6 separate regions of the Homo sapiens genome follow, and regions 1, 2, 3, 4 and 6 are each linked to region 5. Evidence: promoter capture Hi-C in 16 types of primary human blood cells and fetal thymus (Javierre and others, 2016). All regions are on one chromosome and are shown on one strand. The core of a region is centred on a gene start or on the middle of the fragment in contact, and the rest is flanking DNA. Distances in the headings are between cores, read along the strand shown.

Region 1 (4,623 bases), core at 658-3,157, 460 kb before region 5:
GGGTTTCGACAAACTAGGCTCTGAAACCCTGAGCAATAGCATCTTGCTGTGGGGAGCTATCGGCAGCAGCAGAGATTTTAATCTTTTCTCTCCACCCAGTTTCCGTTTCATGCTTTTTTCTTTCTTTCTTTTCCAATGACATCAAACCAAAGGTGGAAAAATGAAAAACGAATGCCTCAGATCGATGCCGCCTGTGGGTCGCGGGTTCTGACTCAGGGACCCGCCCGCCCTGGGAAATGCGGGAAACGAGGCCGGGAGGAGGACTTTCCACCGCCGGAGTCCCACCTGGGGTCGCAGACGGGCAGGCCGGGCCCGTGGCAGCCTCGAATCCGAGCCCGGGGCCCGACCCGCCCCTCCAGGCCCAGCGCGGCCTGCCAAGCCCCGGCGTCGAGTTGGCCGCGGGCCGGCCAGAGAGGCCTGAGGCGGCCAGCGGGCAGGGCAGAGCCAGGGACCGGAGTTCGGGGCTGGAGTCGGGCGCCGCTTACCTGCTGGTACCGGCTGCCGCAGGCCGGCTCGACCGCCGCCAGCGCCGCCAACGCCAACGCCATGGCGCAGCCGGCAGCAGGGAAGCAGAGCGAGCGAGCGAGCTAGCTGAAGGGGCGCGGCCGCTGCGGCTTGGGAGCGCTGGGAGGCCGAGGGGGACGCGCCTTGGGTGGGTCTCGATGGCCGCCGCCGCTCCCGGGCGAGACGCTCTTCTCAGGCTGTAAGCACCGCCGCCGCCGCCGAGGCTCCGACGCGGCCCCTGGGGAAGAGGCGGGGACTACGACGACGGCGCTGCGCCGCCGCCCCACCCCCGACTCGCGCCGCCCTGCCCGGCCCGGCCCGGCCTAGCCTAGTCCTGCGCCGCCGCCCCGAGGTGCACCGGCCCTGGTGTAGTTGCTCCGACGACCTGAGCCTCCGAGGCTCAAGTGTTGTATTCGATTCCACTAAAAACGAATTACTAACAGGCCAGCCCAAAGCAAGGGCGATGCTGCTGATGAGCACCTCGTGCCAAGCACTGAGCTTCACCTACGTGCCCTCATCCAGCCTTCAGCACAACCGCCCTGACGCAGGGACCACAACCCCATTCTCGAGGTCGTTGGCAACCAGAGAGGTTGACAATCTTCACAGCAGCGACCTGATCCCTCGTGTCTGGCAGCAGAATCGTGGTTCTTATTCACTCCCTTCTTTTATCTGCCGTACTCATAAACCAGGGGTCAGCCAGCGACAGGGAGGGGGCCAAATCCGGTCTGCCACCATGACTGTGAAAAGTACATGAAATTCAAGTTTCAGTGTCCATAAATAAAGTTTTATTGGAACACAGCAGCACCCATTTGTTTGGTATGGCCTGCAAACCCTATAATACTTGCTATCTGACATTTTACAGAAAAAGTTTGCTAACCCTAAATCCTTGAGAACTGCTTGGATCTCAAATCCTACTTAGGGTGGATGATTATAATAGCATCCTCATGTTTATGCCATCCTTTAGTATTTTAACAGCCTCATCTGCGGAATCGGAAACAATATTTTCCAAAAAAGCTCCCTGACTCGGTGACATGAAGTCAAAACTTGAAGGGTTTGGCCATGCTAAAGGCTTTCCCGACCACAGGAACAGGTGCAAAGGGCGGTCCAGAGAGAGATTGTCTTGTGGAAGAACAGAAAGGAGGCTGGCATAGCTGCCATATAGGAGATACAATTATCAGTGTTTCACAGATGAGGAAGTTATGCCCAAAGAAATTAAATATCTCACCCAATGACACAGAGCTACTAAGGGGTGAAGCTGGAATACAACTCCATTAAGCCAGCTTTCTTACCCAGTATTGCACAACTAAATTATAAGCTTTGTGAAGACAAGAGTATTTGTCTTTTAAATCTTATTACCTCCCAATGCCATGTAGCACAGTATAGCTATATAGCAGGCTTGCAAGGTCTGTTTCTTTCACACCCAGCCATCTGCAATTGCTTCTACCCACATGTCCTACAGAGAAAAACAAAATCTTCCATCTCTGAAGCTTGTTGCAATTCCCATTTCTTCTTCATTGCCTTTCCAAGTTGGCAGTGTAGAGGTTATATTAATATGATTATTGTCTTAGCTTCTAATTTTGAAGTTTAGTTAATTATGTATTTTAAAAGAGAACTGTGTTTAGAACACACCCTGAGGTTTCTGTATATATGAGAAAATTGTAATCAATAAAAACTCTAGATGTTTACCATCTTCACTTTGAGTTCTCTCTCAGCATCCAAACTCCTCTATATCTGTCGCTATTTCCAAGTATTAGTCTCACATATTAACATGCTGGGAGAGCGAACAAATGTAGCAACATTCCAAGCTCTCAAGTCTATTTAGAGCCTCCTTACTCTGTCCCTCAGTTGTTGTTTATAATCCAGAAAAACAACATTTAAATGTAATCAGGTACAGTGAATCAAACATAATGTCCTGCCATGTAGTCTTGTATAAAGGGTGCAAAAATCTAATTTGAAATTTTTTAAAATGTCAGCAGTGGAAAGTAGAAATCCAGACTTCTTTGTCCAGATTGTCTACATTTACGTGTAAGAAAGAATAAAAAAGAATGTCCACTGGGCACAGTGGCTCACATCTGTAATCTCAGCACTTTGAGAGCCTGAGACTCGAGGATCACGTGAGCCCAGGAGCCAGGAGTTCGAGACCAACCTGGGCAACATAGTGAGACACAATCTCTGAAAAAAAAAAAGAAAAAGAAAAAAGAATTTGTCGGCCTACCACATAAGGCTATTGGAGCAACAACTGCAATCTTTATGCATGTCTGCAGTGCTGTGGCTTTTGTGGAAAAGATGTTGCTACCCTTCTATTTCTTTCCTAAATTACTTTCTCCCTCAATATCTATATACTCCCTGCATGTGGACACAAATATTTATCATAATATAAATAACAGGCTTTATCATAGAAATATTTTGCATTGAAAGTAAAAGAAAATTGATCTCCAACTTCTAATCTCCTTTTCCTATGTCCTCAACCAAAATGTTTTGTAGTCACGGTAAAGATTTTGGTCTTTTTTTTCTTGAGTTCCCCAAAGCCTCTAATAAGTAAATTGAGATTATTTGCCTTGATTTGATGGGTGGATAAATTGGAGAATTGAGAAATTGAGTCACTGCTATATTAGGCCTCCAGCTGGCAGGCAAATTGTACAACGAAGGGGAAAACTGAATTTCTGGCTCACAGATCCATGCCTGGTGCAAGCCAAGCAGACAGAGAAGATAATCCAAAGCCATAAAAATTGTGCTCTTTGGCTTCATCTCGAGATGTTGTCAAGAGAGTTTCCACAGAGAAAGTTATTAATTTCAGATTGCTGCACTTAGAAACTTATTTCCCCACAGAATAACAGTAATACTTTCCATGTGCAGTACTGCATATGTGAATTGCTGACTCTGAATCATCCCTCCTGAGAGAGAAAAGAAACATGGACAAGTATAAGCATAACTCATGTCCGTATCCCTTTCCCCCTGCAATATAGATACAAATCTCTAGGATAAATGTGACCTTCTGTCTTTCATATCCACATGAGGCTTGACCTAGGTAGTGCAGAGCTCAGTAAGTAACCAAGAAGGGTTTGTTAAATGTGTTAAATTTAGACAAAAGCCTCATTAGTCTAATATCTCATTTGAGGCCTTGAACTTCTCCAGCTAGTCTTCACAGGGCTCCAATTAAACCATGAAGTTTTATTTCTATGACTTACTACTTCTTTTAATTCTCACTACATTACCACAAGGTTCATTAAGAGCAAAAGGTAATATCTTCATATTACAAATAAAGAAATTATCCACTGATAATTACTACTGTTATGGAGCACTTCCAGAATCTTGGACCTGATGGTACATCATCTGCTTAATCTTCATAACAAACCCATTCTGCAGATTCTTGAAGAGACTCAGGAAATTTACATAACCTACTCAGCTTTGTGAGCGGTGGAGTCGAAACGCAAACTGGGATTTGTCTGGCTCCAAAATGTATGCACTGCTTTGGGTGTGGAGAGAAATACGGGACATAAATAGACAGGAGATAGAAAGTTCTAACCTTTGGAGTCTTCATGATGAAATAGAGATGATAGTAAACACTTATTTGAGACATTTTTAAAATATAAAACTTACAAGTTATTTACAACTGTGTTGAGCTATATTAACTAATGCTGAGAGATAGTGAAGAGAATTATGTGGCCAGCTGGGATAATCAGGTAAGGATTGGGAAGAAAGGGTTTTGAACGAGAAAAGGGCTTTGTTGGCCAGGTGTGGTGGCTCACGCCTGTAATCCCAGCACTTTGGGAGGCCGAGGCGGGAGGATCACCTGAGGTTGGGAGTTGGAGACCAGCCTGACCATCATGGAGAAACCCCATCTCTACTAAAAATACAAAAAACTTAGCCGGGCGTGGTGGTACATGCCTGTAATCCCAGCTACTTGGGAGGCTAAGGCAGGAGAATCACTTGAACCTGAGAGGCGGAGGTTGCAGTGAGCCGAGATCGCGCCATTGCACTCCAGCCTGGGCAACAAGAGTGAAACTTCATCTAAAAAAAAAAAACAGAAAGAAATAAAAGGGCTTTGCTGTCATGGGAAGAGAGAAAGTTGTCAACCTGAAATAACAACAGAGAGATTCTCCAAAGACAGTGAGTTTA
Region 2 (4,624 bases), core at 1,785-4,284, 270 kb before region 5:
CGTGCAGACCCTTTCATATGAGCAGTAGTGACAGAGCACAGGGATGGCATTGGGACTTCTGGAATCCAGGCCCACTTCCTACTTCTCACTATGGGACAGCCCTAGGGCTCAGATCTTCTTTGGCAACATGGGAAAATGCTCCTCTCTTCAGGGTATGATATGGCCTTAGTCCACAGCTCCCCATAGAGGGGTAACCCTGTCATGGAGACATCCCAGGCTCAGCTCTGCTGATGACACCAATTTACAGATGAGAAAGCCAAGGGTCACACAGGTCAAGTCATTTGTCCAAAGTACACAGCACGAAAGCAGCAGGGATGAGCTGTGACAAACATGAGAGTGATGTGTGTGTCAACTTCATTCAGAAGATCTTATAAGCAGAACTTCCACCTGGAACATTGCCTGAAAAGCGAAGACTCTGCCCTATGAGACCTAGTGTTCACTAGTAAGAATCTGACCTTATAGATCAGGTTCAACAAATATTTTTGAGCAACTATTACGGGCTAGGCTCTGTATTTGATGCAGCAACCAAGCAGTAGAACATGAACTCCAGAGTTAAATCTGGCTCCTCCACTTAACAGGTATGAGACCCTACGCATGTTACCTAATATTTCAGAGCCTGAGATTCCTCAGCTGTAAAATGAAGGTGATATTTCCCTTGTAAGATTTTTGTAAGGATTACACAAGATAATGCATGTATAATACTTTACATTAATAAATAATGCTATAAGGCCGGGCGCGGTGGCTCACAGCTGTAATCCCAGCACTTTGGGAGGCCGCGGTGGGTGGGTCACGAGATCAGGAGTTCGAGACCATCCTGGCCAAAATGGTGAAACCCCGTCTCTACTAAAAACACAAAAATTATCCAGGCGTGGTGGCACGTGCCTGTAATCCCAGCTACTTGGGAGGCTGAAGCAGGAGAATTGCTTGAACCCGGGAGACGGAGGTTGCAGTGAGCCAAGATCATGCCGCTGCACTTCAGCCTGGGCGACAGAGAAAGACTCTGTCTCAGAAAAAAATAATAATTTAAAAATAAAAAAAATGAATAATAAAAAAAAGATGCAATGTATTATTATTTATTGTAAGATCCATGAAGGCAAGAATGTATCTATCTTGTTCTCTGCTATGTCCGTAGTGACTAGCAAAAATGCCTGGCCCAGACAAGGTGTTACATAAATGTTTACTGAATTAAATGAGGAAAACATACATGGCGGGGGTGTGGAAAGTGGCAATATCTCCTTGAATATGCTCCAATACCATGGGTTACTTGTTAAATGGACACAGTGATTCCCTAGCCCTTGTTCCAGGTTCGGCTGTATACCCATGAAGGATCATTCTCATCTACACTGAAGGTCAAGGACCAGGCTGGGGAAGCCTTACCCAAGATATGGCATCCCATAGGGTGTTCGGGGAGACACGGGAAGACATCCATTGGAAGGCATCCTTCCATCCATGGGACCTTGGACCCCCGCTCGTGCCTGGGCCATGGGGACCTGACCTAGATGATGAAATAAGAGGCTATCAAGTAGGGGCAAAGGGAGACCAGGGACTGGGTGCGGTGGCTCACACCTGTAATCCCAACAATTTGGGAGGCTGAGGTGGGTGGATCACGAGGTCAGGAGTTCAAGACCAGCCTGGTCAAGATGGTGAAACCCCATCTCTACTAAAAATATAAAAATTGGCTGGGTACAGTGGCTCACACTGTAATCCCAGCACTTTGGGAGGCTGAGGCGGGCAGATCATGAGATCAGGAGATCAAGACCATCCTGGCTAACATGGTGAAACCCCGTCTCTACTAAAAATACAAAAAAAATTAGCCAGGCGTGATGGTGCATGCCTGAAATCCCAGCTACTTGGGAGGCTGAGGCAGCAGAATCGCTTGAACCCAGGAGGCGGAGGTTTCAGTGAGCCAAGATCGCGCCACTGCACTCCAGCCTGGGCGACAGAGCGAGACTCTGTCTCAAAAAAAATAAAATAAAATAAAAATTAGCAGGGTGTGGTGACGGGTGCCTGTAATCCCAGCTACTCGGGAGGCTGAGGCAGAGAACTGCTTGAACCTGGGAGGCGGAGGTTGCAGTGAGCTGAGATTGCCCCACTGCACTCCAGCCTGGGCGACAGAATGAGACTCCATCTCAAAAAACAACAAAAAAAAAAAAATAAAAAAAAAGGGTGACTAGGGGAGGAAATGAGTGGTAAAATGGCAGTATCTTACCTGTCGAGGTTAGGCACAGGAACCAGCAAAGTGGAGGAGGTAGTCTGAGGCCCATCTGGGCTGGTGGACTTAGGAGTCACCCTCCAGAGGCTAGGTCCCAGTGTACGGGGAAGAGCTGTACAGAACAACCAAAACTCAGGCACCTCAACAAGAACCCAGGAATCACTGTCATCTGCCTCAGCAGAGGTTCTTAAACATGGATACACATGGGAATCTTTTATCTACTACAGATTCTAGGGTAGTACCCCAGAACCAATAAACTAAGATTTCTCAGGGTAGAGCATCCACGTTTTTTAAAAGCGCCCATGTGATTCTGCTGGTCTCCTGTGGATGCCAACCACTGTTCTAAGATGACCAAACGTTCATACATATACTCTCACTAATGTTTGGGGCTCTTTGACTCTAAACCTCTCCTCTCTTCACTGGCTATGCCTACTCCATTGGCCCCTAATCCTCTTTCATTCATTCAGTCCACCATCTCCTGCCATTGGACTCCTCCCCCTCCCAACAGTCCTACCAACTTCTTGGACTCCACCCTCTTCTAGCTAGGCCCATCCACATCTCAAATTCCAGCAGCCCCTGACTTCCCCGCCCTCTTTCAAGCCCCGCCTTCCTTGGCTCTAACCCGGCCCACGATCGCTTCGGCTGTTTCCTCGGGCCCGCCCCCACTCCAGTTCGGTCTTTGCGGCCCAGAGTGACGCTGGTTGCTTGGACGTCCCTTACCTCGGCCCAGGAGTCCCGGGAGGCGCCACATGTCGCTGCCAGCACCACAGAGAGCTCGCAGCCGAAAGCGCGAGACCAACCCTTGGGACAGCGGCTAGAAAGGCCGCCGCGATGCCCCGAGTGGCCGAGTACCCGAGGAAGCTCTGAGCTGGCCAATTAGAAGGGAGCCCGGCCGGAAAGACGGCGCTGCAGAGAGGAAGTGCAGGGCGGAGGCGTATTCGGGGCCAGCGGGGCGGTGACGTGCGGCAAGGGCATGGGGATGTGGGCCCAGGCTTCCGTGGGGGATGTCCTTGGCGTTCCCAAGCCGAGGCAGGGGACCGCAGGTGGCGAAGCGAGCCACCCGGAAGCGGGACCTTCGGGAAGTGGGGCTGGAGCGGCTTCAGGGAAGTAAGAGGACCTTGCAGACCGTGAGGCCGCGAACCAGGAAAGGCTTCTCCAGGCCCTAGGCTTGAGGAAGTGGGAGTAACCAGGCTCCATGGGCGGAGGAGAGGACCCCCGGGGTCCCACAAATGAAGCCAGTAGGCCGGGCTTCCGTCCAAGGCCACCTGCCTGGAGATGCCAGGCCAGGGCCCGACTGCGTAGGCGATGAGAAACCGCACAGGGCAAGGCTTTGATTCTGGGTTCTAGCTCCGGTCCAGCTTTATCTCACTGTGCAGCTTCATGCCAACCCCTTACCTTGTCGGGGCCCCAATACGCGCCAGATAGGGTCAAATGGAATGACTGGCCTGACAAGCTGAGATTCTTGGGTAGCTCCTTTCAAAATACCTGAGACACCACCCGCGCCCTATTAGAACCCTCGTCTTCAGACGTGGCAAAAGTTATGTATGTGTTTGTTCTTTTGTGGAAAAGAATAGTTCCGTCTGGTCCCGGTGGCTCACGCCTGTAATCCCAGCACTCTGGGAGGCCGAGGCGGGCGGATCACCTGAGGTCAGGAGTTTGAGACCAGCCTGGCCAACATGGTGAAACCCTGTCTCTACTAAAAATACAAAAATCAGTTGCGCGTGGTGGTGGGCGCCTGTAATCCTAGCTACTCTGGAGGCTGAGGCAGGAGAATTGCTTGAACACGGGAGACGGGAGGTTGCAGTGAGCCGAGATCGCGCCTGGGCGACAGAGTGAGACTCCATCTCAAAAAAAAAAGGAAAAAAAAATAGTTCCTTTCACCACATTTGAATCCGTGAAATAACGGAGCTTACATTCAAGTATAAGATGTTTAGATTTCCTCCCTATCCCCTTCCTCCAGGTATGTGACTTTAAGGTGAGTGGAAGTTGCTACCTGGGGTAAAAGTGTACTGGGGGCACCTACTTTTAGACCGAGGCATGTGGCTTGAAAGTTGTATTAATATGTTAGACAACTTTTTTTTTTCTTTTGAGACGGATTCTCTGTCGCCCAGGCTGGAGTGCAATGGTGTGATCTCGGCTCACTGCAACCTCTGCCTCCCAGGTTCAAGCGATTCTCTTGCCTCAGCCTCCCAAGTAGCTGAGATTACAGGCGCCTGCTACCACATCCTGCTAATTTTTGTATTTTTAGTAGAGACAGGGTTTCACCATGTTGGCCAGGTTGGTCTCGAACTCCTGGACCTCAGGTGATCCTCCTGCCTTGGCCTTCCAAAGTGCTGGGATTACAGGCTTGAGCCACCGTGCCTGGCCGTTAAAGAACTTTTGAGCCATATATCAGCCCGTTCTAGGATCTGA
Region 3 (4,335 bases), core at 460-2,959, 500 kb before region 5:
TCAAATATAACTTCTGAAAAAGAACACACTACACTATTATTCATAATAATCCATAAACTGGTTAGAGGGATCATTGAAATGTCAATCCAGGAGGCTCCTAATTTTCCTGTTTGGCTTTCAAACAACCCACACTTCTGTGCATTATATACTGATATCCTGAACGACTTCCTATGCTGATTCTGGATATACATACACAGCAGATGAATGGACATTTGCAGCTATCAGACTGTGCTGGTGCTGATTTGTGTAGTAATTTGACCATCTTGGTGTATTTTTTCTTCATATTTCTTAAATAGAAAATGAAAAAAATCAAATGGCTGATATCATAAAAACAACTGGTCTCTAAATTTAAGATTGAGACAAGAATAGAAATCAGGAGAAATGAGGAATCTTTAATTTCAACTGACTGAATGCTCACAGGACTCAAACCAGTTGGTGCATTCAACTGAGAAAAAGAACAAATGAGAACATGCAGAAAACACTGGAAATAAATTATCTAAAATTATGTCTAAAAATTGAAGCATAATTAGGAATTCCAGAATGATTTAAGATCTCTACAACTCCTCTCTACTTTTTTAGTCCATTATCTTTTACAGAACCAATGTTCAAATACATTTTTAGGAATGTATTTAGTAGGATATAAGAGGACTTCTTGTGCTGAAAATGAAGAAAAAAATTGACCCAACATTAGTTTTTTAATCGCATCTACTGAATGATTCCCTAAGATTAGAAAAAATTGCCTTAGCAATCAACAAATGCAAGCCAAGAAATTAAGCACTAATCTACAGTAAAAGGTGCTACACAAGAGATATTTATTAATGTTCTGTTGTATTTACAGTTTTAACATAGCAAACCAAGATGAATTACCACTTGGGCAGAAAGCACATCATTCTACATTATAACCCACTGGTTTCTGCTAACACATTGTAAAAGCAAGTAGTACAGTATGTTAGGGATCATCTCAAAAGTTCCAAGCTACTTCTTTCTTTGCTCCTAAGTACCTAATCCTCTCCTTACTCCCAGACTTTGGCCTAATCACCAGGAGACAAAAGGAAAATAAGGGGGGTGGGGGTGGGGGTGGGGGTGAAGAACGCTAATTATAGAAAGAGTGTCAAGAATTACATTTTAGTAATTAAGCTTCATTTGTATCCTAGTGCTTTCTGTTTTATACAGTGACAACACCTTTAGAATCCCTTAGGTACAATAAGGTACCGCAGAATTGTGAATACAGGCTATAAAAAATTAATGCTTATTATTTACCAATTAAAGACTTATTTTTGACCACACCTTAAATGTATTTTTGCACTATGATTTTGCTTCCAGGTGTTCATACAGAATTGAATAAATTTCTAGATTAACTTGAACAGCAAATATGGATTATGTGCAAAAACACAGTCATAGCAAAAGTTTAACTTTTGAGAAAACCCCTTTAAAATGGCCAGCATTATACATATCTTACAATATTTAATTCCAAGTTCATTTTGAGATGGAGGATGAATAAAGCAAGACTGCCCCCTACCGACTACAGGGACATGGCTCATGCTACTTAAAATGACTACAAACAATATATAAGGCATTATTAATACATCACAGACTTGATTGCAAGAGCTTTTTCAAACATTAACCACTAATGATTCAATGATTACAGAATTCTGCATTAACTATTAAAATTTTACACCTAGGAACAAATAGAGAGAAATGATCTTTTCAACAGTACTTTATTTTTTTAAAGCAGGTGATTATTCCTCTGTGTTCTGCATCTTGATTCACTTCCTGCAGGTGTTCTCTTGCTTCTTGAGAGAGAATTCATAAATGCAGGAAGGCCTTTGCCAGAAAACATCTGCCAGAGAAGGATATTGAATATTGAAACTCTAGTTAGCTTGTTATTTTGGCTAAGAGAAGGATGTAGTCACAAAAGAAGGCAGGATGTTTGGAGACACAAGTGCATTTTAACATAGTTTTAAGATTACTGTATACTGACATCACGGTATTCAATAAACATTAAAATTTCAGTTCTTAAAGTTATCAAGGCCTCTAGAACTAGAAAAAACTGGAATGCTTTTTCTAAAAACTCCTGAAGTCAGGAGTCTCTCTTTCCAAACCTCTTAACAAAAGAATACAATGGAAGCAGTGCTACTGCGCATCCCACACTGAACGCTGTCAGCAATGACTGAAACTTGGGACAGAGAGCATAATCCAAGTGCACAAGTAATTTTCCTAATATACCTGAAGATACTGTTTACCCTAACAATTCCACTAGATATTGCACAAGGAAGCTTTCCAGTAAGGATGCCAACCATGTCATGCTATACCTCAACCGAGCATGGCAAAATTAGAAAACAAGGATAAACTCACAGGTACCACAAATACTTTTAAAAAACAAGTTTTCCTAAAAAGTCATTGTATTTGGGGCATGTTTCTCTTAAAATAATACATGTACTTTCAAACTAAATTTTAAGAAAGGAATATATCTGACTGAAATAAATGCTCTCGAAATAATGCCTACGCATTTTACTAAATGCAGTTTTCATCTAATACTTTGAGGCATTTCTGTACTAGTATATTGTTTTGGTTCTCATGAAAATAACTTGGGAAAAACTACAAGTAATTCCCTATATTAACAATAAAAGAAGAACTATTAAGAATAAAAGAAGAAACACTAAAGAGATACATTTACTGCTTAATAAACATTTATTGAGAAACTATTTTGTGGTACTCAGCAAGAAGTGAGAGTTGGATGGGCTCAAATATCGGCCTATAACTTACTTTTCTATCCTCCAAATTACTATAAAAGCCACAAGAAACTCTTCTATGTCTTTTCTTTCTTTTCTTTTCTTTTTTTTTTTTTTGGAGACAAGAGTCTGTCACTCAGGCTGGAGTGCAGTGGCGCGAGCTCGGCTCACTGCAACCTACACCTCCAGGGCTCAAGCCAACCTTCTGCCTCAGCCCCGCAAGTGACTGGCACTAACAGGCGTGCACCACTATGCCCGGTGTCTTCTGTATCTTTTCTGATTAGATTACTGCGTAAGTATTTAAAAGGCTGCCAAAATGGAGAGAGACTACAAACACACTGGAGGAAATGAACATATTTTAATATTATCAACATTTTTCCAAACTATAAATTCATTTGTGTTGTGATTTGAAGTAAACCACTGAAACTGATACAAGGACATCTTTTCTTTAGATTGAGAGACATAAGAGATTGAAAGACCTCGGAAAGCACAGAGACAGAGACACAAAAATATGAGGAACTCTAAAAGCCAAGCAGAAGCAAAAAAGAAAATTGGCAGATGAATATTAAATGAATGTTTTTGCAATGAGGCCAGACTCATTATAAACATAAATAATTTGTTTTATCAGTTTCTATATATTTTTTTTTTTTTTTTTTTTGAGACGGAGTCCCGCTCTATCACCCAGGCTGGAGTGCAGTGGCACAATTTCGGCTCACTGCAAGCTCCGCCCCCCGGGTTCATGCTGTTCTCCTGCCTCAGCCTCCCGAGTAGCTGGGACTACAGGCGCCCGCCACCACACCCAGCTGATTTTTTGTATTTTTAGTAGAGACGGGGTTTCACTGTGTTAGCCAGGATGGTCTTGATCTCCTGACCTCGTGATCTGCCCGCCTTGGCTTCCCAAAGTGCTGGGATTACAGGCGTGAGCCACCATGCCTGGCCCAGTTTCTTTTAATAGATGAAAACTGATGAAACAGTGACTAGTAGGTCAAAACAGAGTTTGCAAGAATATACAATATGGTACGGACAATTACCTGGCCACTTCCTTAGTTTATGATGCTTTAGCATAGGTAAACAGCTTTAATAGATCCCTCAAAGTCAAAGCCTGACACCCAACAAACATTAAAAATCCCTTTGCTTGTTCAGTAAGAGAAGTAAAAATTAAATTAAAATAAAATATCTCAAGAGGACCTAGAGAGGTCACCAGTGGGTAATCTCAATCACCACACAATCTCCAAATGAAAGACTGCTAGAGGGCACTGCTGTCTGAGACTTGGAGGCTTGAGTGGCAGTGTTACAGAAATGCTGGCAGTACACAAACTGAAGAACAAACAGATCTTAGGGACTCTGGACCGTATTACTAAATTATAGATCAGATCACTTTGTAAAAAAAAAAAAAAAAAAAAAGGAATCCAATAGCCTACAGATCATTTAATTCCAAGAGGAAGACAACCAGTTCTTCTTGGAGACATGTAAATTTTGTTTAGCAAAAATTCTACTGGAAACACCATTTCCCTATTATCTTGCTATCTTATAACATAGTCCAATAAGTAAACCTTTACCTTGAGATGAATTTCCTTTAATAAAATAAAAGAAGTATTAAGGA
Region 4 (4,921 bases), core at 1,894-4,393, 480 kb before region 5:
TTGGTTCAGCTTCATCATGAAACCACAGACAAACCAAAAATCATTTAACACACTGAAATAACTTTTAAAAAAGCAAATGAAAAATCGAATATTCAAAAATATTCTGATTATTGCCTCTCTGTAGAGCCCATCTTTTCTGTTATACAACTTACCCTGACAATCAGGATCCATTTAATTAGAGAGAGACCAAATCCTGAAATGGCCCCATACCTTCCTGCAGCTGAAGTGGTCAGGCAAAAAGACAGGAAAAACCCAATCCAGTTAAAGAGGAATGCCACTGCAAAAGCAGAGGAGGGGAAAGATGTTAGACATGTCCTGTTACCCAAGAACAAGAGTGCCTTACACCTGCCTCTGTTTAAATGACTTTCCAAAGGATAAAAGACAGCCTGTCCTCCACAACCGTCACCATACCTCCTCTAAAACATCCATTCTTCTGTCTTTCCCCAAAAAGCAAACAAGAAAAACTCCTCCCTATCAGGTTTTACACACTTATGTCTACTGCTAGTCACTTTCAAAAACGCCTTAATAGGCTGAGCACAATAGCTCACATCTGTAATCCTAGCACTTTGGGAGGCCAACGTTGGAGGATCCCGAGCCCAGCAGTTTGAGACCAGCCTGAGCACCACAGTGAGACCCATCTCTACAAAAACTGAAAAAAACAAAACAAACAAACAAACAAACAAAAGCCGGGCACAGTGGTGCACACCTGCAAGTCCCAGCTACTTGGGAGGCTGAGGTGGGGGGATCACTTGAGCCCAGGAAGTCAAGGGTACACTGAGAAGTGATCACACCACTGCACTCCAAATTCAGCCTGGGCAACAGAGCAAGACCTTGTCTCAAAAGGAAAAAGCAAAAAAAACAAAAAACAGCAAAAAGCAAACCTTAACATTCACCAAACTGTATACTTACAACCTCTGCTTTTTTTTTTTTTTTTTTTTTTGAGACTGAGTCTCACTCTGTCACCCAGGCTGGAGTGCAGTAGCACGACCTTGGCTCACTGCAATCTCTGCCTCCCAGGTTCAAGTGATTCTCCTGCCTCAGCCTCCCGAGTGGCTGGGACTATAGGCGTGCACCGCCAGGCCCGGCTAACGGCTAATTTTTGTTTTTAGTAGAGATGGGGTTTCTCCATGTTGGCCAGGTTGGTCTTGAACCTCTAGCCCCAGGTGATTCGCCCACCTCAGCCTTCCAAAGTGCTGGGATTACAGGCATGAGCCACTGTGCCCAGCCTTTGACCTCTTTTTTTTTTTTTTTTTTTGAGACGAAGTCTCACTCTTGTCCCCCAGGCTAGAGTGCAATGGTGCGATCTCACCTCACGGCAACCTCTGCCTCCCGGGTTCAATCGATTCTCCTGCCTCAGCCTCCTGAGTAGCTGGGATTACAGGTGCCTGCCACCACACCCAGCTAATTTTTGTATTTTTAGTAGAGATGGGGTTTCACCATGGTGGCCAGGCTGGTCTCGAACTCCTGACCTCAGGGCATCTGCCTGCCTCGGCCTCCCAAAGTGCTGGGATTATAGGCATGAGCCACCATGCCCAGCCTGACCTCTGCTTTTTACTGTGTGTGTTATATATATATAGTCCAGTAAATAAAATAAATGCCTTCAACATTAAATAAGTGCCCCCAAATAATCTGATTCAAGTCACTCATCCTCCTGTTCTCTGAATTTTGACAACTTATATAACATCACCTCTAAAAGCATTGCATTTTCTTATCTTTCTAATACAACAAATAAAGGAAATGGTTGCTCACTTCTATGTGAGGCACACAAAAAGATAAATGGCAAGTAACATGAAGGGAGAAAATCAGGCTGACTTTGATCTGTCAGAAAAAAGAAGCTTTCAGAGCAAAATTCATCAAAGGCATTTAATTCCTATTCTACAGATTAAGTATGAGTAGAAGCAACGCAAAAGGGCCCCGTAGACCTGGAAGATGAGGCTTAGCTCATGTAAAAATGCAGCATCCTCATAACTGCTTTAATTATATTTTCCACAGATATTCATGAAAATAGAAGGCAAAGAGAAGGGATATTAAAACAAAGGTATATTAAGCTTTGAATATTCCAGTAAAAGGCACCAAATAAACATAATGTATTAATATATTAGCTCAACTAGTTATTTTAATTCAGTCAGATTCACCCATAATCCAAAGCACTCTAGTTTGTAGGGGGTGGTTCTGATATGCATACATACTTACTGAAAAAAGTTAACATGAAAATCCCATCATTTCCTATCCTCAGCTGGTCAGCATCATCAAAATCATCCCGACCCACAAAATCCTCATCCTAAATGAAAAGAAAAAGAATTATTTCTAGGCAAAGGGAAGACATAAAGAAAAATGAAGGGTTAAATTTGAGTAGCAAGGAAAAAAGTTATTGCTTTGGTTCAGTTCAAAATTATGAGCATTAAAGGCTCAATGTGTGTTTAAAATTCCATTTTGCATTATTAATATATAATTAGAAAAGAAGCAAATCTTTCTTCTATCCCCAGTGTTCTAAATGAAATTTTCATCTTATAACCCAAGTTCTTTAACAATACACTTCAAAAATTTAATACACTTCAAAAACAATACACTTCAAGAATAGTTCACAAAGAACTATTTACTCTTCCTTTAAAAAAATATACCTCAAGAAAAGACAAAAGACAAAATTTACTTACACATTTGGTTTAAATTCTAGAATATCAGTAATCGAGGACCTGTTTAGGACCTAAAATATTAGTAATTAGAGATAAAATCAGCCAGGTGCAGTGGCTCATGCCTGTAATCCCAGCACTTTGGGAGGCCAAGGCAGGCAGATCACGAGGTCAGGAGATCGAGACCATCCTGGCTAACATGGTGAAACCCGTCTCTACTAAAAATACAAAAAAATTAGCCGGGAGTGGTGGCGGGCACCTGTAGTCCCAGCTACTCGGGAGGCTAAGGCAGGAGAATGGCATGAACCCGGGAGGCAGAGCTTGCAGTGAGCCAAGATCCCACCACTGCACTCCAGCCTGGGCAACAGAGTGAGACTCCGTCTCAAAAAAAAAAAGATAAAATCAACCAGCTCAAGTGCTTTACGAGGCTGATATAGGGGAAAAAAGAATAGTACGATCATACATGAATAGTCCACAGAACTGCCCACTGCTCAACTCCATAAGCATGTATTTGTATTGGTATACAGATCTAAATCTCACTTCTAACCTTATCAGCAGATAAGATCTTTTCCATCCTAACTTGATAACGTAATATTGCAAAACTAGAAATAACATGATCATGAACAATACCAACACATGTGGGCTATCTTTTTAACTGATATAGGTGTGTGTTGAGATATTTAAAAATAATTGAATATATACTTAAAAGTGATAGATTTGTACACAGTTCAATGAGGGCTCCTTAAATGAAAAATATTTTAGGGAATATCAAAACTTGTTGTACACAGAAAAGGGTCTGGAAGACCCAAATTGTTAACAGTGGTTCCCCTGGGGAGTGGGAACTAGAGAAAGGGAAGTCGGTGGCAATGGCAGCTTCCTTTTCTAACTTAACATACTTCCTCTATTGTTTGAAATTTCTATAAAAACGAATTTTTATAATTAATTTTTTAAAACATTAAATACCTAGTATTCTTACTTCGTATCAGCAGAATAAGGTTTTGCCAAAATTAAAAGCTAATTGTTTTTTGCATAACTATTCAAAGATATACTCCAAAAAATATATGGAAGTAACATCTAATAATATTACGAACACCTTCTAACTGTTCTTCCTGTCCTCTTGGTATCTCTTCTACCATGATGCATCCTAGAAATTGCTGCCAAGTTAATGTTTCCAAAACACCACACAAGTCCTCTCATACCCCTGCTCAAAAACTCTGAAGGATTCTCTAAAAGCTACATATGAAGTTTAAATACGCCCATCTAACATTCCAAAGATTCTATAAACAACAGTTGTAGTCAGGACTTTCTATCTCCCTTCACAAACTCTTGCTCATACAAAGCCAATTACTACATCCACAGAACTGCCTTCACCTGGCTGAATTCACACCTGCTTTCTGTGCCTTTTTCCCTCTGGAATGTTCTTACCCATCAAAACTCCGGGCCCACATCAAATCTCATTTTCCCCTATGATCACCCAGTAAAAAGTTTCAGTTCTTGATGCCCACTGCTCTTATGTGTCTTAGTTATCAGTATTTGTGGGCCCTTTACCCTAGTTGGATTTTAGGCTTTTGAATAACAATGAGGAACACTGCCTTATACAAAGCTTTTTACCTATCCACTGTAAAATATACTGCATCTTATATTTAAAAAGTGCTTTATACATGTCTGCTGAATACTAGAGCCCTTTAAGAAGTTCCTAAATATGTACTTGTATCAAATGAAAGTATTCTGAAGAGTTATGTGATTAATCAGAGCTAATTTCCATACTGATCTATTTACCATATATTGCAACAGATCTGCAGAGTACAGTGAAACAAACAAGGACTTTGGATTCTAGAATATCTGGGTTTGACTTTCACTTCTGCTACTTATCAGTCATATGACTTTGGGAAAATTACTTTTTCTCTCTGGACCTAAATTTTCACATCTGTAAAATGGAGATAATATAATCTCTACCTTTCAAGGTTACTATGAAGATTGGAAACAATATACAAAATATATAAAAGCATCAAGCACAGTACCAAGCATGTGGTTTGCTTCCAATATACGGCAGTTACATTATGATGGTCTTGCCCTTAGACACTAGGGTTTTTAGTTTCTCCCTGGTACCTGTAAGAACTGAATGCACATCATCGCCATTTAGGATCATCCTAGATTGGGCTCATAAACTATTTCTACCAAGCAATGATTTTAGGAGCTTCGCTCCTCACAGTAGGTGTGGTCTGCAAACTGTCTACTATCTTAAAGCCAAGAGGGGAACATCTGGGCCTATGCCATCACACTGCCCAGAC
Region 5 (4,796 bases), core at 992-3,491:
GGCAGCTCCTGCTTTATATATTTGATACGTAGGGGTTCCATGAGAGATTTTGGGTTTTAAAGGAATGGTTTTACTGCATTAAAGAAAAAAAATGCTTTGGAAACCAGAGGCCTGGGTGATGTTAAAGTCTATCCTGTCCCACTTCCTACATTCTGGGACTACCGTGAAGCCTGGAGTAGGGAGAGCGAGTTTGGGAGCTGGGACTCGGGGAGTCAAAAATAGATGAGTAATTGTCAATAAACCTGGGAACCAAAAGACTACCATTCTCATTCATTCATTCAACAAATATGTATTGTGCACCTAATTGGTGCCAGGTCTGGGGATATAGCATGAACAAAACAAACAGGGCCCCTGCTCTTATGAATCCTCCGTTGTGGAGGGGAACAGAAAATAGCAAATAAACACATAAACCAGTACTTGAACAAGTGAGTTTAGTGCTGTGAAGAAACTGAACCAAAGTGATGAGCTTGAAGAGTGATTGTGGAGGCCAGGCGCAGTGGCTCACACCTGTAATCCCAGCACTTTGGGAGGCTGAGGGGGATGGATTACCTGAGGTCAGGAGTTTGAGACCATCCTGGCAAAGATGGTGAAACCCTGTCTCTACTAAAAATACAAAATTAGCTGGTTGTGGTGGCACGTGCTTGTAATCCCAGCTACTCGGGAGGCTGAAGCAGAAGAATCACTTGAACCTGGTAGGTGGAGGTTGCAGTGAGCCGAGATTGCACCATTGCACTCCAGCCTGGCAACAGAGCAAGACTCCATCTCAAAAAAAAAAGAGTGATTGTGGAGATGGTCTTTGGATGGGTGGATGGGGAAGGCATCTGTGAAGAGTTGCAAAGTAAGGGAAAGAAGCTGTTGGAGGCGACAGATGGAACGCTGGAAGGAGGAGATTCTGGAGAAAGAAAGCAGGCATGAAGAACTCTGCATTGGAAGGGACTTGGTCTACTGAGGGAACAGCAAAGAGGCTGGAGCACAGTGAGCAGACAGTGGGAGGAGAGTACAGGCTGAAGTAAGAAAGACCAGCAGGGTCTTCCATGCGTAGCCTTGAAGGCCATGGATTCTATTTGGATTTTATTCTGAAGCAAGTGCATTTTAAGCAAGTAAATTATGAGATCTTATTTCCCTTTAAAAAAGAAAAAAAAGGTTGATCACTCTGAGTGCTGTGTGAACAGTGGGTTGGGGTGAGGGCAGTGTGGAAGCAAGGAGATCAGATATTAGACCAGAAGTCTAATAATGGGGGCTTGGACTAGGATGGTGGTCTTGGAAATTGAGGGAAGTGGATCAAGAGGTTTTTGTTTGTTTATTGTTGTTTGAAATAGAACCTGTAGGACTTACTGATGGATAGAATGTAGGGGTAGGAGAAGGCACATTGACTCTGGGTTTCTGACTTAACTGACTGGAGGAAATGCGGTGCCATTTAAAACGTTACGGGGGGAGGATCAGGTTGAAGGAGGTTTAAAAGCTTTAAAAGTTGAGGTTCCTATTAGATATACTAGCAGAGGTGTCAGTGGGGAGTTGGAATGTGAATCTGGAGTTTTGAGACATGTCAGGGGTACTGGGACAGGTGCCTGAGCCAAAGAAGCTTAGGTGAGGAGGATGAGGAATTGGGGAGAGGCTCCTCAGGAAGCAGTGCTAGGGCTGGAAGATCCTAAAGGTGGCAGGGGCTTCCTGCGCATCTCCCAGCTCTCGCCGACTCACTGGTATCGTTTAGTTTTCAGTGGGGCCAAGTCTTTTTCCCTTTGGGCCTGGTTCCTTCCTGGATCCAGGCATCTTTCTCACCCCGCTCACGCTGGCTTTTCCAGTTAAGCGGGAATTAGGAAAAGGTCTGGGACCAGCCCTCTCTTCGTCAGATGCATCTTTGCTCAGGTGCCCAGTGACTCAGTTTCCCTGGTCACACACTGAATTCCTCTCCATTCCTCATCATTAGCTCGGGGACTGGGGATCTACATATGCAAATGAATAATTATCAATAATTACAGGCTGAATCAGTGGTTACACTACAAATAGAACTTAGGCGTCTTGACTCAGATGCCTGGGGTTCTTCCCACCGCCCAGCGGACGCTGCGTCCGCCCCGCCCGCCCCGCCACCCGGACCCTGCCGGCGTATTCGCAGCAGTAACAGGTTTAGTTTCTCGGTGGCCCCCTCTCGCTTCCGCGCCCTGCGACGTCGCCGGACAAGTCGTGGGCGGGCAGAGGGCGGGGCCTGACCTGGCCTGGGGCGGGGCTCCATAGTGGGCGGGGCTTCCTCCAGTTCCGGAGTCCAGTGGCTGACCGCCTTGCTGGAGCGGAGATGCAGCCGCCGCCCCGAAAAGTGAGCTTGGCCCTGAATGGGGACTCCTGGCGGGCTGGGGGAACGGAGGGAGCTAAGGGGGCATCCGACTTGTGGTAGGAGACGGGAAGTCGGAAGGGGTCAGACCCCAAACCAGAAGTAACAGAGGAAAGAGCTCAGCACCCCCCCGGCCCCGCCCCCTCACCGCTCCCTGCGCGGAGTGTTTTTTAGGTCCTTGCGCTGGGGTCTTCATCCTCTCTTTGCCCCCACAGGTGAAGCCGGCCCAGGAGGTGAAGCTTCGCTTCCTGGAACAGCTGAGCATCCTTCAGACCTGGCAGCAGAGGGAGGCGGATCTGCTGGAGGACATCAGGTAGCTCCCCCAACCCCCTTCATTTACACTCACCTTCGTCGTTGTGCGCCACTTCTCCCCAATATACATGTGCTGGGGTGGAGGAACAGGGGCCAAGAGCTCCCCAGCCGACCCATCCACAGCCCTCACCCTAGGCCTGGCCTCTCCAGATACTGGATAGGAATGCTCCCCCACCTAACCCCTCCCAACCCCCTCCCACCCACATAAACACACAGGAACCCTCCCTCAAAGCCCTTGACTCCACACCACTGCCCCCAACCCCACAATCAACCTTAGGGCAGAATCCCTCTCCCTCTTCCAGACCTGTTGGAAGGCTGGCAGACATCGTACCCAGGCCCCCATCAGTCTTCACCTCTAAGCCTACAGATGAACCTCTGGGGTGGGGAGGATCCTGCTGGGGCCCGGGGCAGTAAGGTGAGGGTTTCCTGTGTTGCAGCTGCCCGAGGTGATCTCAAGGACTCCCATCAGTCCCATTCCCTCTGGGTGTAGTTACACTCTAGGAACCTGGCTCCCCCCAACCGCTCCCTCCTGCCCAGAGTAGAGGACTGAGGATGGGAGAACAGGACCAAACATAACCTTATCCCCCACCTCACCCCCGACCTGCAATCTCCGCAGATCCTACAGCAAGCAGAGGGCAGCCATTGAACGGGAGTATGGGCAGGTATGGGACTTTTCTCTGGACCTTACCTCTTGTTCCAGCCTCTCTTATATCACCAGTAATGTCTGTCCATACCTATCCCTATTGTGGTCAAGAGCAGATGCCTAGAGTCAAGCAGACTGGTGTCAGATCCCTGCTGTGTAATTATAGCCATGTGACCTTGGACAAGTTACTTAACCTTTCTTGACCTCAGTTTCTTTCTCTGTGAAATGGGAATAATAATAATACCTTACCTTCATGTAGGGTTGTTGTAAGGATTAAACAAATTAATGACTATAAGGCATTTAGCAAAGCAAGTGGCACATAATGTACCCAAAGAATGGTATGATTATACTCTGATGTCATATTCTGCCAGTTGGGGTGGGTCTTTGAAAGGGAACTTGGTTCTGTGATGGCTTTTTCACCAGGCACTCCAGAAACTGGCTGGCCCATTCCTGAAGAGGGAAGGGCACCGGAGCGGTGAGATGGACAGCAGGTGGGCCCTATGGAGGGGGAGGGCCACAGAGGCCAAAAAGTGATGGGGAGCTCAGCCCCAGGAACCTGTGGGGATGAAGGCCTAGCAAGTGGGGAAGGCACGTGAGCTGTAGGTAGAGCTGACACAGCAGCAGCAGAGGAGCTGACCCAGCAAGGACACTGTGGGTGGGGTGGAGGGCAGGAGTGAGGCTTGTGGCTGAGCTAATGGGCTGATCGATTGATGGGCTCCCAGACAAGGGAGGATGGGAAAGCACTCTGTCTCCCATGGTGTTGGTCAGGGGGCAGGGGGTGGGGGTGGTCTCATGAAGCTGTGGAGTGCTCTCCTCCTCAACACAGACCTTCTCTGGGGAGGGGCAGGACAGTGTTCGGTGCCTGGCGCTGCCTGCTGGATGCCACCGTGGCTGGGGGCCAAACCCGACTCCAGGCGTCTGACCGATACCGTGACCTAGCAGGGGGTACAGGGCGGAGCGCCAAGGAGCAGGTGCTTAGGAAGGTATGGCTCAGAGGTTGGGGTGAAGGAAGAGCTGGCTTGGGACCAAAGGTGGTCTAGGTAAGGACTTTGTGTATGCATCCCAATAGGGAACAGAGAACCTCCAGAGGGCGCAGGCTGAGGTGCTGCAGTCTGTCCGGGAGCTGAGCCGAAGTCGGAAGCTGTATGGGCAGCGGGAACGTGTGTGGGCCTTGGCACAGGAGAAGGCGGCTGATGTCCAGGCCAGGTGGGGTCATGGAGAGTGAGGAAGCCCAAGGTTGGGGAACAGGGAGGTGGGGCTGTCTAGGGGTGGAGCCAAGTCACCAAAGCTGGGCCTGACTCTGATCTCATATTCTCCCACTTGGGGTGGGCCTGACTCCTTTCTCTCATCTGCACAGGCTAAACCGAAGTGACCATGGGATCTTCCACTCTCGGACCAGTCTCCAGAAACTGAGCACCAAGGTTCGAGGGATGAGGGCATGAGTGGGGGCAGGGAAGAGGGAGGCAGAGTAGTCTAGTGGTTTGGAACATAGGTGCATATGTATGAAAGACTGGG
Region 6 (4,739 bases), core at 1,193-3,692, 290 kb before region 5:
ACCTAATATGTGGTCCCTATTATTATGGATGGGAACCAAAAAAGGCAGCGCTAAGTCAGGAACTCCAGCCTTGGCAAAGAAAAGGGATTTTCCCTCCATCCTCAGCTAGTGGAGCCCTGAGGGGAGAAGGCGCCCTGAGGGGTAAAAATCCTGGATGAAATATAGAAGACACTGAGACTGGAAACACACGCCCAGATTGGGAAATTCTTCAGAAATCGGCAAATTTCTACTTCTAGGCCTTCTCCTCCTCCTGCTGCTTCCCCACTTGGTTCGCCCGGGTGTGTCAGTCGACTGCTTTCCTACCCAGGGAGCTTCCCTGTCAGGGCCTCTTCCTTCCTGTCCCCGTCTGGCCACTCTGTCTGTCCCCTGCCATTTCCCTTCCCTCCTTTGTCCACTGCCCTTGCCCTGCTCATTGCCCCACCCTCACCCGCCTGGCCCTTCCCGGAGCCTGGCCCTCACTGTGTCCCCTCCTTCCCCCACAGGTCTGGCCCTGGACCGGCTGAGCGCCCCTGACCCGGCCTGGATGGCGAGACTCTCTTTGCCCCTCACCACCAACTACCGTGACAATGTGATCTCCCCGGATGCTGCAGCCACGGAGGAGCCAAGGACCTTCCAGACGTTCGGCAAGGCAGAGGCACCAGAGCTGAGCCCAACAGGCACGAGGCTGGCCAGCACCTTTGTCTCGGAGATGAGCTCACTGCTGGAGATGCTGCTGGAACAGCGCTCCAGCATGCCCGTGGAGGCCGCCTCCGAGGCGCTGCGGCGGCTCTCGGTCTGCGGGAGGACCCTCAGTTTAGACTTGGCCACCAGTGCAGCCTCAGGCATGAAAGTGCAAGGGGACCCAGGTGGAAAGACGGGGACTGAGGGCAAGAGCAGAGGCAGCAGCAGCAGCAGCAGGTGCCTGTGAACATACCTCAGACGCCTCTGGATCCAAGAACCAGGGGCCTGAGGATCTGTGGACAAGAGCTGGTTTCTAAAATCTTGTAACTCACTAGCTAGCGGCGGCCTGAGAACTTTAGGGTGACTGATGCTACCCCCACAGAGGAGGCAAGAGCCCCAGGACTAACAGCTGACTGACCAAAGCAGCCCCTTGTAAGCAGCTCTGAGTCTTTTGGAGGACAGGGACGGTTTGTGGCTGAGATAAGTGTTTCCTGGCAAAACATATGTGGAGCACAAAGGGTCAGTCCTCTGGCAGAACAGATGCCACGGAGTATCACAGGCAGGAAAGGGTGGCCTTCTTGGGTAGCAGGAGTCAGGGGGCTGTACCCTGGGGGTGCCAGGAAATGCTCTCTGACCTATCAATAAAGGAAAAGCAGTGATTCATTCTCCTGTTTGCACCTGTCAAGAGGGAGAAGGGAAGAGTAATAGAGTGGGGTTTATTTGTCATCCAATCCCTGGCAAGACCGTCACACTGGGCCTGGACAGGAGTGGGGCACCTTGGTACACAGTAACAGGTACACAAATAGCAGACATGTGTGCTCTTACCCCTGTTCCCCTATCACTATGTTACCAACTAATCTGCTTCTCAGCTGCAAAATTAGAGCTAAGAAAGCACAACTATTTATAAAGCATTTACATGAGCCAGGCACCAGGCTTTACAATAGGATTTAATTTGATTTTCCAACAATCCTGGGAGGGAGGTATTATTAACCCCATTTCACAGACACGGATATGGGGCTTGGAGAGGTCAAGTGGCTTTCCCAAGATCAAGCAGGGAGTAGAGCCAGAGCCAGGATTTGGACCCAGGCTGGGCCAACACCAAAACCCATGCCTTCAACCTTGACACCAGCCTGCCAACCAAAGACAGGAGAAGGGAAGGCCCTGGAGGTGAGCTGTTGGCAGCAGTGAACTTGCTCGAGCTCCCTCGGGAAACACTGTTGAAAGGAACATTTCCAAAGCCATCCAGGCCCGCACCTCTCTACATTCCCAAGCACAAGGCAAAAGGAACTTGGATCTGAACTGATGCAGACCCGTTCTTTCCCAACAAGTAGCTCTTCAAGTGCGGATGTCATCTTTCCCAACCCCATTTGCGGGTAAACCTTCCTCTGTCATTGCAGGTTCAGGCTTGTGAATCCCAGAGGACGCTGTGTGAACTGGGTCTATGAAATCGGCACTGACAGCAGCCAGCCTTCCAGGGGATGGGGGAGGGAAGAAACAGCAGATATTTTCCCAAGGTTCAGCTTTATAATTTTCTTGGAAATTTCCGAGCAGCCAATCAGCTAGCTTCTAAATAGTGTGGGTCTCTCCTGGACACTGCAGGCAAAAGTTCCTCTATCTGCTCCTCTTTTTGTCCTTTCTTGGAGCTCAGTGCTCATGTTCACTGTTCAAGAAATGGGCCAATCATACTCCCAACTAGGGATAATGTGCATCATACATACTTGGAATACAGTGTGGTATCATTATTCCATTTTACAGATGAAGAAAATGAGGCTCCCCAAAGTTATGAGTTTCAGGGGCAGAGTTTCTCCTCACCTCACTCTAGGCCAGAGTGATCTCCTTACAGAATCTGTGATTTTCAGGCTGGATCACAGAACTGTTGGGTTCTGTGGGCCAGTGAGAGAAACTGGGGGATATCAAGCAGGCAGGCAGGGTCTCCAGCCTGACCAGCCAGGTGCCTGCTACAAAGCAACACTTGATGAATAGCTGTTGAATGGATGTATGAATGAATAAATGTGTCAATAAATGCTTCAGAGGCCCCTTTTATCCATATTGGAGCTCCAGGTAGGACTTCATTAGAAAAAAAGACTCTGTGATGTAAAAGCAAAGTCTGAGAACCACAGTACTGGAGTAGACCATGGTGACCTCCCAGTTACCAGCAGATTTTCAGTGCAGAGCAGATGTTGGGAGGGTGGAGAGAAGAGAGTGGGCAGGGGGAGATGACCTGAGGAAGCTGGAGCTATAGCTGGCAACTGGATCACTAGACACATGGGACCATTGCATCATTCTAGTTCAAAAGCCCTAAATCTGTACTCCTTGGGCACCCTGAATACTAGGTAAAACTTTGTGTCTAGACACTTTTTTAGGCAGAAGATACAAAATTCTCATCAGATTCTCAAAGGAAACCTTGACCTTTAAAAGGTTACACAGCATTGCTTTAAGATACTATCTAAACATCCACAGACATGGGCAGTTGTCATAAAGAGTCTGAACTTTATCTATTTCAACTCTTCATTTTATAGCCAAGAATATAGAAAGAAACGGCAGATGACTTGCCCAAGGCCACCTGGCAGGTTTGTGGGGGAGAGCTTTCCAAATTAAGACATTTAACTGAGTGCTTGCTCAAATCAGGATTTGGATCTGGGATTTAGTATGGTGGTCTTTTTAATACATCAAGGATTCTTAATCTGACGTCTTTGGTTAGACTTCAGGATCTATGAACCTACTGAACTACATGCAAAATTGGGAGGATATGCATTTTTTCTATGGAAAGAAGTAGGTGCTTAGATCAGATTCTCAAAGAGATTTCGGGCCCAATTAAGATTAGAAAGCACTACAATCCTCTAGGTCAGCCCTCAGCCCTGCCTTCCCTGCAGAACCTGGAGAACTCCTGCGTAGAGCTGCTCCTGTTCTGAACTTTGATCAGAATGGGGGTGTATGTACGTGAGGGACAGTGTTCTCTCCTGCACCATGTGTCCCCTCCTGATGAGCTGATACCAGCACCTTTCCCAATAACAGCTCAGAGTGAGACCGTGTCTATGGTAACAGAACTGGGTGTGTTGAACAGGAAGGTTACAGAAATTTCTTGACATCAGCCAAGATGTCAAAGCTGAGACTTTGGACACGCTCAAAACAGTTTCCACCAAGATGGGCTCTGTCCCCTGGGAGACTGAGGGAGCAGGCGAGCCAGCAAGCACTGTTACATGTCGTCCTAATTTGGAAAGCATAGAGGGACATTTTTTAAATCAATAGTCAGCCGTTCTCCAGCACCAGGAGTGCAATGCAGTGCTCACTCAGAGCCTGGAGGCAGCTCAGAGATTGACAGGCAGCTGCCTTGTCTGTCACCCAACTTCAGTTTGGCAGCTCACTGACGCTGCCTCTTCTCTGGCTGAAATAAGAGTGATGTGGCAACCACTACCTTTGAAACTCTGGAGAGAACCAAATCCCAAAAAAGAGAGGACAGGAGGAAGGAGAGGCTTGGCCTGGCACATAGTGTGTACCTAGAAAATAGATAAGCATTTTCTAGCTCCTACTAAATTTTGGGTACAACGTGGGAGGAGTAGGACATGATCAGAAACACTCATGCAACAAACATTTTGTGTTTATTGAATAATTACTAAGTGCCAGAAGTAGCACAGGAAACCGTGTGTGTGTGTGTGCGTGTGTGCGTGTGTATAGGCGGCGAGTGGGGGGCAATACAGAATTATTCATTCAAGTTATTTAAAATTATTCATTCAAATTACTTAAAGTACCTACTATGTGCTGGGTAGGCTTGGTGCTGGGCATTGGGTGGGGGGAGTTGAGTATAATCACTCACTTATTTGTTGAATGTATATTTACTGAACATCTGAGTGCCCCACACTATATTAGCACTAATGATATAGTAAACCAAATAGCCTTGTTCCCATCATAGTGTCAGGACTCCCTGAAAACAGCATCTCCGGATAGGGAAACTGAGGCAGTAGAGCTTCCCACAAAGGTCTCATTGGTGAGGGCGCCGGGCTTTAACCCAGCATCCTGACCCAGGCTGGCCCTGCTGATGGGAGCCACCTCCCTCTCGTCCTCTCACACTTCCTCTGGGG

The links. Contacts are between HindIII fragments. The CHiCAGO score rates a contact against its expected background, and 5 or more counts as called.
Region 1: a contact is called between a fragment that was not itself captured here and the fragment with the promoter of FCHSD1 in region 5, in 3 of 17 cell types (total B cells, naive B cells and fetal thymus). The highest score is 5.6, in total B cells.
Region 2: the fragment with the promoter of DELE1 here is called in contact with the fragment with the promoter of FCHSD1 in region 5 in 12 of 17 cell types (neutrophils, total CD8 T cells, naive CD4 T cells and 9 more); the score reaches 10.9 in neutrophils.
Region 3: a fragment that was not itself captured here is called in contact with the fragment with the promoter of FCHSD1 in region 5 in 1 of 17 cell types (activated CD4 T cells); the score reaches 5.2 in activated CD4 T cells.
Region 4: a fragment that was not itself captured here is called in contact with the fragment with the promoter of FCHSD1 in region 5 in 1 of 17 cell types (megakaryocytes); the score reaches 5.9 in megakaryocytes.
Region 6: a fragment that was not itself captured here is called in contact with the fragment with the promoter of FCHSD1 in region 5 in 6 of 17 cell types (erythroblasts, neutrophils, monocytes and 3 more); the score reaches 6.6 in erythroblasts.

Annotation. Positions count from the first base shown.
Region 1 is chr5:142,104,900-142,109,522 of GRCh38, reverse strand. It overlaps NDFIP1 (Nedd4 family interacting protein 1), which reads right to left and starts at 744. Exons shown (of 8, transcript NM_030571.4): 1 at 486-744. The coding sequence starts at 548. RefSeq lists silencers at 315-384, 455-584, 645-914 and an enhancer at 492-993. The HindIII fragment of the contact is 172 bases long and covers 1,822-1,993 here.
Region 2 is chr5:141,922,281-141,926,904 of GRCh38, reverse strand. It overlaps DELE1 (DAP3 binding cell death enhancer 1), which reads right to left and starts at 3,034. Exons shown (of 12, transcript NM_014773.5): 1 at 2,933-3,034; 2 at 2,210-2,324; 3 at 1,378-1,495. The coding sequence starts at 2,963. RefSeq lists an enhancer at 2,640-3,153. The HindIII fragment of the contact is 14,517 bases long and covers 1-4,624 here.
Region 3 is chr5:142,149,236-142,153,570 of GRCh38, reverse strand. It overlaps NDFIP1 (Nedd4 family interacting protein 1), which reads right to left. Exons shown (of 8, transcript NM_030571.4): 8 at 1-1,840. Among named protein-coding and RNA genes, the nearest start is that of NDFIP1, 43 kb to the right of the region's middle. The HindIII fragment of the contact is 1,139 bases long and covers 1,140-2,278 here.
Region 4 is chr5:142,133,090-142,138,010 of GRCh38, reverse strand. It overlaps NDFIP1 (Nedd4 family interacting protein 1), which reads right to left. Exons shown (of 8, transcript NM_030571.4): 4 at 2,194-2,281; 5 at 153-277. Among named protein-coding and RNA genes, the nearest start is that of NDFIP1, 27 kb to the right of the region's middle. The HindIII fragment of the contact is 2,185 bases long and covers 2,051-4,235 here.
Region 5 is chr5:141,648,863-141,653,658 of GRCh38, reverse strand. It overlaps FCHSD1 (FCH and double SH3 domains 1), which reads left to right and starts at 2,241. Exons shown (of 20, transcript NM_033449.3): 1 at 2,241-2,311; 2 at 2,542-2,639; 3 at 3,255-3,300; 4 at 3,705-3,772; 5 at 4,123-4,264; 6 at 4,351-4,487; 7 at 4,639-4,702. The coding sequence starts at 2,291. ARAP3 (ArfGAP with RhoGAP domain, ankyrin repeat and PH domain 3) reads left to right here. Exons shown (of 33, transcript NM_022481.6): 33 at 1-257. RefSeq lists an enhancer at 3,641-4,219. The HindIII fragment of the contact is 983 bases long and covers 1,585-2,567 here.
Region 6 is chr5:141,941,549-141,946,287 of GRCh38, reverse strand. PCDH12 (protocadherin 12) reads left to right here. Exons shown (of 4, transcript NM_016580.4): 4 at 483-2,707. The coding sequence ends at 907. It overlaps DELE1 (DAP3 binding cell death enhancer 1), which reads right to left. Exons shown (of 12, transcript NM_014773.5): 12 at 4,241-4,739. Among named protein-coding and RNA genes, the nearest start is that of PCDH12, 14 kb to the left of the region's middle. The HindIII fragment of the contact is 7,155 bases long and covers 1-4,739 here.